Linked DNA regions of Homo sapiens: regions 1 and 2 are each linked to region 3. The links are contacts of gene promoters, found by promoter capture Hi-C in blood cells and fetal thymus (Javierre and others, 2016). All regions are on one chromosome and are shown on one strand. Each heading gives the region's core, a stretch centred on a gene start or on the middle of the fragment in contact. The rest is flanking DNA. Distances are from core to core; before and after follow the strand shown.

What was found. The method cuts DNA at HindIII sites, captures the fragments that hold promoters and counts their contacts. A CHiCAGO score of 5 or more calls a contact.
Region 1: the fragment with the promoter of SRGAP1 here is called in contact with the fragment with the promoter of TBK1 in region 3 in 1 of 17 cell types (naive CD8 T cells); the score reaches 5.8 in naive CD8 T cells.
Region 2: a fragment that was not itself captured here is called in contact with the fragment with the promoter of TBK1 in region 3 in 1 of 17 cell types (total CD8 T cells); the score reaches 5.5 in total CD8 T cells.

What each region holds. Positions count from the first base shown.
Region 1 is chr12:63,843,367-63,846,066 of GRCh38, reverse strand. SRGAP1 (SLIT-ROBO Rho GTPase activating protein 1) reads right to left here and starts at 1,367. Exons shown (of 22, transcript NM_020762.4): 1 at 1,184-1,367. The coding sequence starts at 1,250. RefSeq lists silencers at 1,525-1,784, 1,895-1,954, 2,015-2,434 and enhancers at 1,361-1,860, 1,861-2,362. The HindIII fragment of the contact is 14,499 bases long and covers 1-2,700 here.
Region 2 is chr12:65,179,105-65,181,804 of GRCh38, reverse strand. The region is part of intron 1 of LEMD3 (LEM domain containing 3); the gene reads right to left. Among named protein-coding and RNA genes, the nearest start is that of LEMD3, 11 kb to the right of the region's middle. The HindIII fragment of the contact is 2,224 bases long and covers 211-2,434 here.
Region 3 is chr12:64,450,711-64,453,511 of GRCh38, reverse strand. It overlaps TBK1 (TANK binding kinase 1), which reads right to left and starts at 1,392. Exons shown (of 21, transcript NM_013254.4): 1 at 1,325-1,392. It overlaps XPOT (exportin for tRNA), which reads right to left. Exons shown (of 25, transcript NM_007235.6): 25 at 2,387-2,801. RefSeq lists a silencer at 1,052-1,521. The HindIII fragment of the contact is 9,573 bases long and covers 1-2,801 here.

The DNA of each region.
Region 1 (2,700 bases), core at 118-2,617, 610 kb after region 3:
CAGTGTCCACAATGAGTTGGTCTGTATTCACACTGGATGATACAGGATTTCTCCACCAGGTCCTCTCACAGGACTCCAGGCATTTTTACAACTTGACCACACAAAAGAACACTCAGGCTGCTCCTCCCTTGCTCAAGGGAAGTACAGTAATGCCTCTCTCCGTAGCCCTTTCATAAGACTGTGCATAGATAAACACAGGTGTATACATAGCAATCTTTATGAACTTTGCATTGAATGTGTCAAAGAACAGTGGCGGTCCCAACATTCCATCCATTGTCTCAATCAGGAAAGCTACTCCTGAGACCTCAGGAAAGAGGAGGAAAAAATTCAAGTAACACATATGTTTACGAAACACTTCAGTAACAAAACAAAATACTTGTATTGGAGAGAAAATATATATATTTTTAATCACAAGGCATAGAAAGTAAAAATAATCAGCCTTAATTAGGTTTCCTTCATTAGTTGACAATGTAAATGGACTGAAACTACTACTCAAATATTCAAACCTTCATTTTACATGCAAGTGGCTTCCAGAAAATGATAAAGCAATATTCCCATGTGAGTGTGAAAGATGGCAATGAATTCTGGCCCATTATAAAGGAAGAGTCAGATTCCACTAGTCACTGCTTCGTTTAACTGCCAGGCTTTTAGGGAGCTATTTAATAAAAGGGGTCTCGCCCTAATAAATTGTGAGCGGTGTAAATAGGTGAGTGGTGTAAATATCTGAAATAGCCTGCACTCAATGAGGCTGTAGACCGCTTGGGGTTCACAGACTTTACAAAAATCATTCCGTAAAAAAATTACGTAGTGACAATCCTACCATTTAAAAAGAATAATGATGGTGATAATAATAGCTGGACAGGATCCTCCACTGCTGCCTGCTTCCCACATAAGTTGCCCAGCTGAAGGTGGTTAAGTTAAAGCCAGTTCTCTCCCCATTAGAGATGCGGGCTGGCAGCTGGCGGGGGAAGTCACCCAGTTTCCAGCTCCCCGTGGGTTTGACGGGACTGGGATTGCAACTGGGAACTAACTGGCTTGTAGGAAGCCCAGGTGGCTCAGACAGGGCTCGAGCTGTCCCCTCACCACCTTCCTCCCACGCAGACACCAAGTTAGATACGCAACTCCACGAGCACAATGACAAGAAGGCACACAAAAGGAGCAAGGCAGCCGCTCCCATCCTTACCTTTGACTTGACTTTCATACTCGGCTATGATCTCTTTGTCCTTCTTGAATCGGCTCGGGGTGGACATTATCCAGCTGTTCCGGGTTTGCTTTCAATGGGCAAGTTTTGTTCAGTGGTCACAACCCGTTCTCCTTGGAGAGGCAGAGTTGTACTCCCACACGCAGGCAATCCAGAGGCAGCGCCGACCCGAGGGAAGGGAGGAGGGAGAGGAGAAGTAGGAGGAGGAGGGGAAAAAGAGCGAGTAGAGAGGACTAGATTAGCCCGGGCGCTGGCACCATACTCTCGAAATTGAGCTCCGTCGGTAATCCCAGGGGATCCCCGGGGGAGAGGCCGGACGCGCAGGCAAACTCCAGCCAGCGAGTGGCGGGGGACGTCTCCCTGCCCACCTCGCCGGGAGCCCGGCCACTTCCTCTACGGCCGCTGGGCGGGCGCGGGGCTCGCGCCGGCGCTCCGCACCATTGTTCGAGACCCGCACCGGGCGCCCGGGACAGGGCCAGCGGCGGAGGGCAGGCGCTGGGAACGCGCCCAGCTCGGGCGCCACAACCCTCCCTTCCTGCCTCCAGCTGTCGGCTCCGGCGCTCAAGGGTCCCGCCCGGGCTGGGGATGCTGCTGCCACGGCCGCCGCTCCTCTGCCCGCAGACACTGCCGCTACAGCTCGGCAGGCGAAAGGAATCGCAGTCCTGACGCGAGTCCCCGCTGCTGCTGAGAGGGTGAAGGCGGCGACGCTCAGACGCGCCCTGGGCACAGCCCCGGCGGAGTTTAGGTCTCCAGAGCCGGCGCCGCGAGGGGCCTCTGCCTCCCTGGCCGCGGTGCGCCGAGGCTGCCTTTCTCTGCGTCCCCCTTTCCGCTGCTGCCCCCAGGAGGCCGCTAGTGACAGGCACACTCGCACACGCACGCGGGAGCCGCGCCCCCGGCGGCAGCAAAGTTGAGGGTGCGCACACGGCTCGCGCCTCGCGGGCGCCCGGCTAGCGATCTGCGGGCGGTGGCTCCTCGGGGCTCCGCCAGGCGGGGCCAGGCTCGCGGGAGCGGACCGCGCTCCGGCCTGTGCCCTTCTCCGTCCAAGCTCCCGCCCCTGCTCCGCTAGGAAACGCCTGGCTGGTCCGGGAAGATGGATGCCTCTTGTGGCCAACCGCAGCCCGGCCCCGCGCGCCGAGCCCAGGAGGCCGTGGGCGGCGCCCCCGGCACCTCCCTCCGCCGAGGCCCCGCACCTCCCTCCGCCGAAGCCCCGCTCCACCGCTAGCCGAGGTCGCGGCTCCGGCGGCAGGAAAACCCCTTCCTGACCTGAGGGACCGCCTTCTGGCTCTGGCGGGGGCTCTGGTGGGGCTTTTGCCAGAATCTAATGGGGAAGTCCAGAGTTGGATGTATCCATGACACAAAGGGATGTTACTCCGAGACGCTGGACCCCAATAGAAAAACTGAACACTGAATTGTGAATGACCTGGCTGTTAATCCAAAGAGCGCGAAGCTCTTCAATCGAGGCGGAGAAAAACACCCACCTTGAACACCATATCCTCTAT
Region 2 (2,700 bases), core at 73-2,572, 730 kb before region 3:
AATTCATTCTTCATGTCTCTTCCTTTTTTAAAAATTACTCCTAAAAACCTGCAAAAAATAAAACCTACATTTATTAAAATTGTGTGGTTTTTAAAGGTAGAATTCCCAATTGAGAAAATGGTAATACAGAAAAGGTGAAAGGAATGATCAACACACATTACTTCAATTAGCCAACTATTTCTTTTGTGTATATATACACTGTGATAAGCTTTACCAGATGGTATACTCAAATTTACAGAAACTAATTTTTAAAGTATGTTTCCCAAGTCACAATATATAAATCTGATACACTGTTGCATGGTAACAAAATCCCAATTCTGAAGGCTAGCTAGTGCAGAAATATTTAGGAAAAAGAAGAGAATGCCAGCCAAAGCGTGGGGAGAGTGTCACTCCTATAGTTCTAAAAGGTATGATATATACTTATCTTCTGCCATTACCTGGTACATAGTATAGGTGCTCAATAAATAATCTGGGTGAATGCGTGACTGAATGAATAAATGAGTAGGAGAAACTTAATGTTTCTTCAAATGAACTAAATCAAACAAGAAAGCATTTGTGATCCCATGGGAGATACACTTATAAACTAAGGAAGTCCTTAATAAGGCTGACCAAGGTTCCAAGCCATAGCTCAGAGGCTAGAAGAAGTAGATATCCCAAGATTCCCCTCACCTCCTAATTAATTTCAACAATCCTCTTCATATGCTTTGAAAATTTTACCTTGGTGAATTCCTACAGAGCAAAAGCATCCTTTGTAAGTACAGCATGCTTTCAGGAATTAGCCATAGTCAGAAAATTGTGTGTGTGTGTGTGTGTGTTTGTGTACATACTCAGATATATATGAGCTAACTGAGAAACAAAATTAATTTTCTGCTATGTGCTAAAATATCCATTTGCTACTAAAGGGTTTTTTCTATTCATGTCATATTCAGGGCAGAACAGCAATTGGTGCATACTTACTACCCAATTAGTTCAGGAGAGCTGAACTACACTCTTGCATAGTTTTACAACCAAGCCTTGTTTTTAAACTTTAGCTTGCCATTTGATAGTAACATAGCTGTAAAGATGAATTCAGAAGTCATCTTGCAAAAGCATTTTAAGTAAAAAGCTGTGCAAAAGCACAGAGCAATAAATCTAGCACCCAGGAAAAATTCAGTGGTATAATTTTAAACTATACCTTGACATAAAAGAAAATGAAGACATATGAAAAGTAATTCATGATGGCTTCCATATGATAGATGCATTATTCTATTTTTAGAGATTACCTCTGTTACTATAACTTTTATAACCTTTTTGAAGAGCTAATTTCCTAAGAAATATATTTTTTAAATAATGATATTAAACATGCAAAATAAATTATTAAAACCTAACTTATTTTCTTCCTGGTAAACTCTTGTTTAAAAAAATTTTGGCAATATTGTTAATAAAGAATATTATTAACTATATATATAATATATAATATATAAACTGATGCAGTTTAAAGCATAGATTATTAAAACAGTGAAATCCAAAGGTTACTGCTCAACTATACTGTTACTGGTTCACTTTAAAATCTATGTTAGGGCAGGGCACGGTGGCGCACACCTGTAACCCCAGCACTTTGAGAGGCCGAGGCAGGTGGATTACCTGAGGTCAGGAGTTTAAGACCAGCCTGGCCAACATGGTGAAACCTCATCTCTACTAAAAAATACAAAAATTAGCCGGGCGTGGTGCCATGTGCCTGTAATCCCAGATACTTGGGAGGTGGAGGCAGGAAAATCACTTGAACCTAGGAGATGGAGGCTGCAGTGAGCCGATATTGCACCACTGCACTCCAGCCTGGGCGAGAGAACAAGATCCTGTCTCCAAAAAAATAAAAAATAAATAAAATCTATGTTAAAAATAAATCTAAATATGAAAATCAAAATCCAAAGTTATAAGCAAATAACTGTTATAACAATTTCCACAATTAGTATTAAGCTATGTTCCCATATTAAATGGCAGCAATTTTTAATGTATAATCAATACAAGATTAAAATACATCTTTTTTAAAATGTTATTTTAAGTTCTGGGATACATGTGCAGGATGTGCAGGTTTGTTACATAGGTAAACGCGTGCCATGGCAGTTTGCTGCACCTATCAACCCATCACCTAGGTATTAAGCCCAGCATGCATTAGCTATTTTTCCTGATATTCTCCCCACCCCTAGAATATATCTTCATTCGAATTTAGATTATATCATTAGTAATAAAATTTTCACAAACAAGTTAGTAGTACTTATTTATTAACAAATACATTTTGGAGAGTTCCAACAGTTTAAGGTGTCCTTCTCTTTTAAACAACTTACAAACTATATAATTATCTTTGCACTGAGGCTATAAATTTCCATTTATATAACATATTTTTCAGATAGGGAAAGTTAATATTGAATAATCAATGAGCAAGGAGAAGCAAGCTTTAAGAACTTCCCAACTCTTAGGAATCATGAAAATAATTTTTCATGATTATTTTAGTGTCCCTGAAATTATCAAATGCATCATTTCCATTAAAACATATATGAGTATAAAGGGAAAATATGAAGTTTATTCAAAAGGAGCAAAAAAGGGAGATCAAATGTATGAAAAGTTCTTTATATCCTAAAAATGAACAACAGAAAGAACAAGTTGTAATTGGTAATACAAATCAAAAGATCACTTTCCCTACCAGTTTTGAGACTGCAAATA
Region 3 (2,801 bases), core at 143-2,642:
TTAGATAAACTTTATATACGACTATAGGAAATAAGCAATAAAAATAAGATTCCCTTTTCACAAATAAGGAATACACATTTGCCAGTCATTACATTTCACTCACGATACAATAACAAACGTCTCAACTATCTAACGAAAAACCTTCCCTAATCAATGTAACTGTAAATGGCAAATAGTACCATTAGGTACCTATATGTATGTACCTTCAGGATAATAAGAAAAATATTTATCAGCTAAGATATCTGTTCTCTATGCAAATACAAAACTATGGTTTCTATTTAACAGTAATCACAATAGTGGTCAGGGGAAATGTCTTTTGAAATTATCTTCCAATAACTCCACAATAACATGTTAAAACATGACTCAGCACACCCACAACGTGCTTGCCATATAAATCTTCCCAAATTTTTGACAAGCATATAAGCAGACACTCAACAACTATGTTGCTGATGATGCCGTCTTCAGCCTACTTCCTTACACCGTCCAAAACGAAAGTTACTATTTGTTGAGGGATGAAAACAGGTTTGACGACATGGCCTATGGACAAAGTTCCAGGATTTCTAAACTCTGCCCCTATGTGATTCATACACTGGGGTTTCAGAGTGGAAAAGACCAGTCTTTGGTTATACATTTGGCAATTACTTGGGAGTTGTTTTGAGGCCACCTACTAAGAATACTTGGGATAGAGATTACAAATTAAACCCATAAGCCAGGTAGACGAGGAGCAAGGAAATGTCTGGGAATTCGTATTTCATCGGCATATATTTAAAACATCTTATGCTTCTAATTTCCGGTGTGAGTCAACCTCTGCGGACTGAACATCACTAAAACTCTAAGGAAACGTCTCTTTTTAATCCTCTGAAAAATCAATACATTTAAAAACTGCCCGTTGTGTCGACGCTCGGAAAGAGGGTAGAAAACAGCGAGTCTAAGGGAAAGAGGTGCCCCTGCCTCCCCAGGCAGCCAGGGCCCAGGCCCGGTAACGGAGTCGTCCTCTTTATGCCCAAAGCCGCCGGACGGGATGCAGGTCGAGGACCGGCCGCGCGGCGCGGAGCGGGGATGCAGGTAACAGGGCCCGCGCGACCATTCCACCGGCTACGGCCACCCGACACACACCCCAGAGGCAGTGTCCACGCAGCCGGGGTCCTGGATGGCTTGGCCTCGGGTCGTCCGGGGCTTCTCGGTGCGCCCGCCCCCGCCCCCGCTCTGACTCAGCATCCCAGCCTCCCACAGGGGGCGGGAGCGCTCCCCGCCGGGCGGCGCAGGCCTGACCGACCGCGCCCCGCGCCGCCTTGGCCCCTCAGCCCGCGGCCGTCTCACTTACCCAGCCGGGTCTCCGCCGCGCCACCGCCGGCGGGCTCCCGCGGCCTCCTCGAGACTCAGGACACTTCCGGCTTCGCAAGCCCTGGCCGGAGGCCACGTGACCGACGGCCGGCGCGCCGGTGCGGGTGCGCGTGCGCACGCCTATGGCCCGTCTGGTAGTCACCACAGCCGCGGCGGCAACTGCCGAGTCGGCTTCCGCGGCCACGGTAATGAGGGGGATGTCTGGAGACACCCCGTCCACTGTTGCCCTCGCCCTTTACTCTAAAGGGGAATGAGGAGCCCTGAGCAGCGAACACAGTAATTGGGATTCCCGCAACTGCAAATCCCGCCCCTTCCCCGAGCGCTGGCCGACAGTAGGGCGGACCGACGCTGAGCAAGGGATTACATCCCAAGATTTACAGGTGTGCAGAACGTGGGACACGTGGGGGGCAGGCACAGACGGCCGGCAGAGCTGGGAGGGATGGATTCTATGTTTTAAGGGCCCACTTTGGCTGCAGTGGAGCCAGATTATCGTCTCGCAGTAATTCAGACTTTACATTGTTTTTTTCATTTTCCCATCACCCAGAAATACATTAAATTCTTAATGTAAAAATGTTCATTTAATTCCCTCTCGGTATTTTGGAAAACGGCCGTATTGGAGTATCTAACTCTAAACTTAAGAATTTAAGAACTAAAACTTAAATACTAAAATTAGGTCCTGCAATATTCGTGCAGTCAAAATCTCAAGCCGCTATTCCCAATAAGGAATAGCTTTCTGAAGGGGTCCCTTCTGCCCACGGACAGCACAACAGGCCTTTCTCAACATGAGGGAGCAGAGACCGCTGCTAATCTAGGGCTAAATTTCTGAGTGGAGGGGAAGAGGAAGATGGTGTTTCCCAGAGTAGCAGCAGCAAACACGAATGAATGGGAAGTCATGCGGAGTGGCTCAGAGGCTTTTGAATGTAACAGACCTAGGGTTGCTGTCTCGGCTGCCAATTACTGACTTAAAAGCTAATCTCTTACCTCTCTAAGCCTCAGTTTTATCAAATGCACAATGGAGATAACAAAAGTCCACTCTAATGAATTCTTACAAAGCAAGTTACTTTATTAGCATTTTAAACAATGTATAAGTGATGGAATCATTCTAACAACACATCTATTCACTGCTTACAATTCCAACTAATTTCAGTTCTTTGATATCTAATGACAAGAGCGAAGACCTGTTAAAGTTCCTTCCACCAGTAAAACTCACAGCTCAAAGTTGTGGGAGTGATTAACTGAGCCACAGGCCTTCATTCACATGTTTACCACATTAAAATACCACACAGTGTTTTCTTATAAGGTCAACCAACTGGGAAGCAATTAACATTAGCATTAAGATTTAAACTGTTAGGCACAGGGCTAAATCAGGCATTATATGAAAACTTGTGGTTCCCTAGTCAAGTCAAACAAATCCCCAAATATTTCAGCTTGTAACAGTTTTGTCCTTCCTCTCTTGA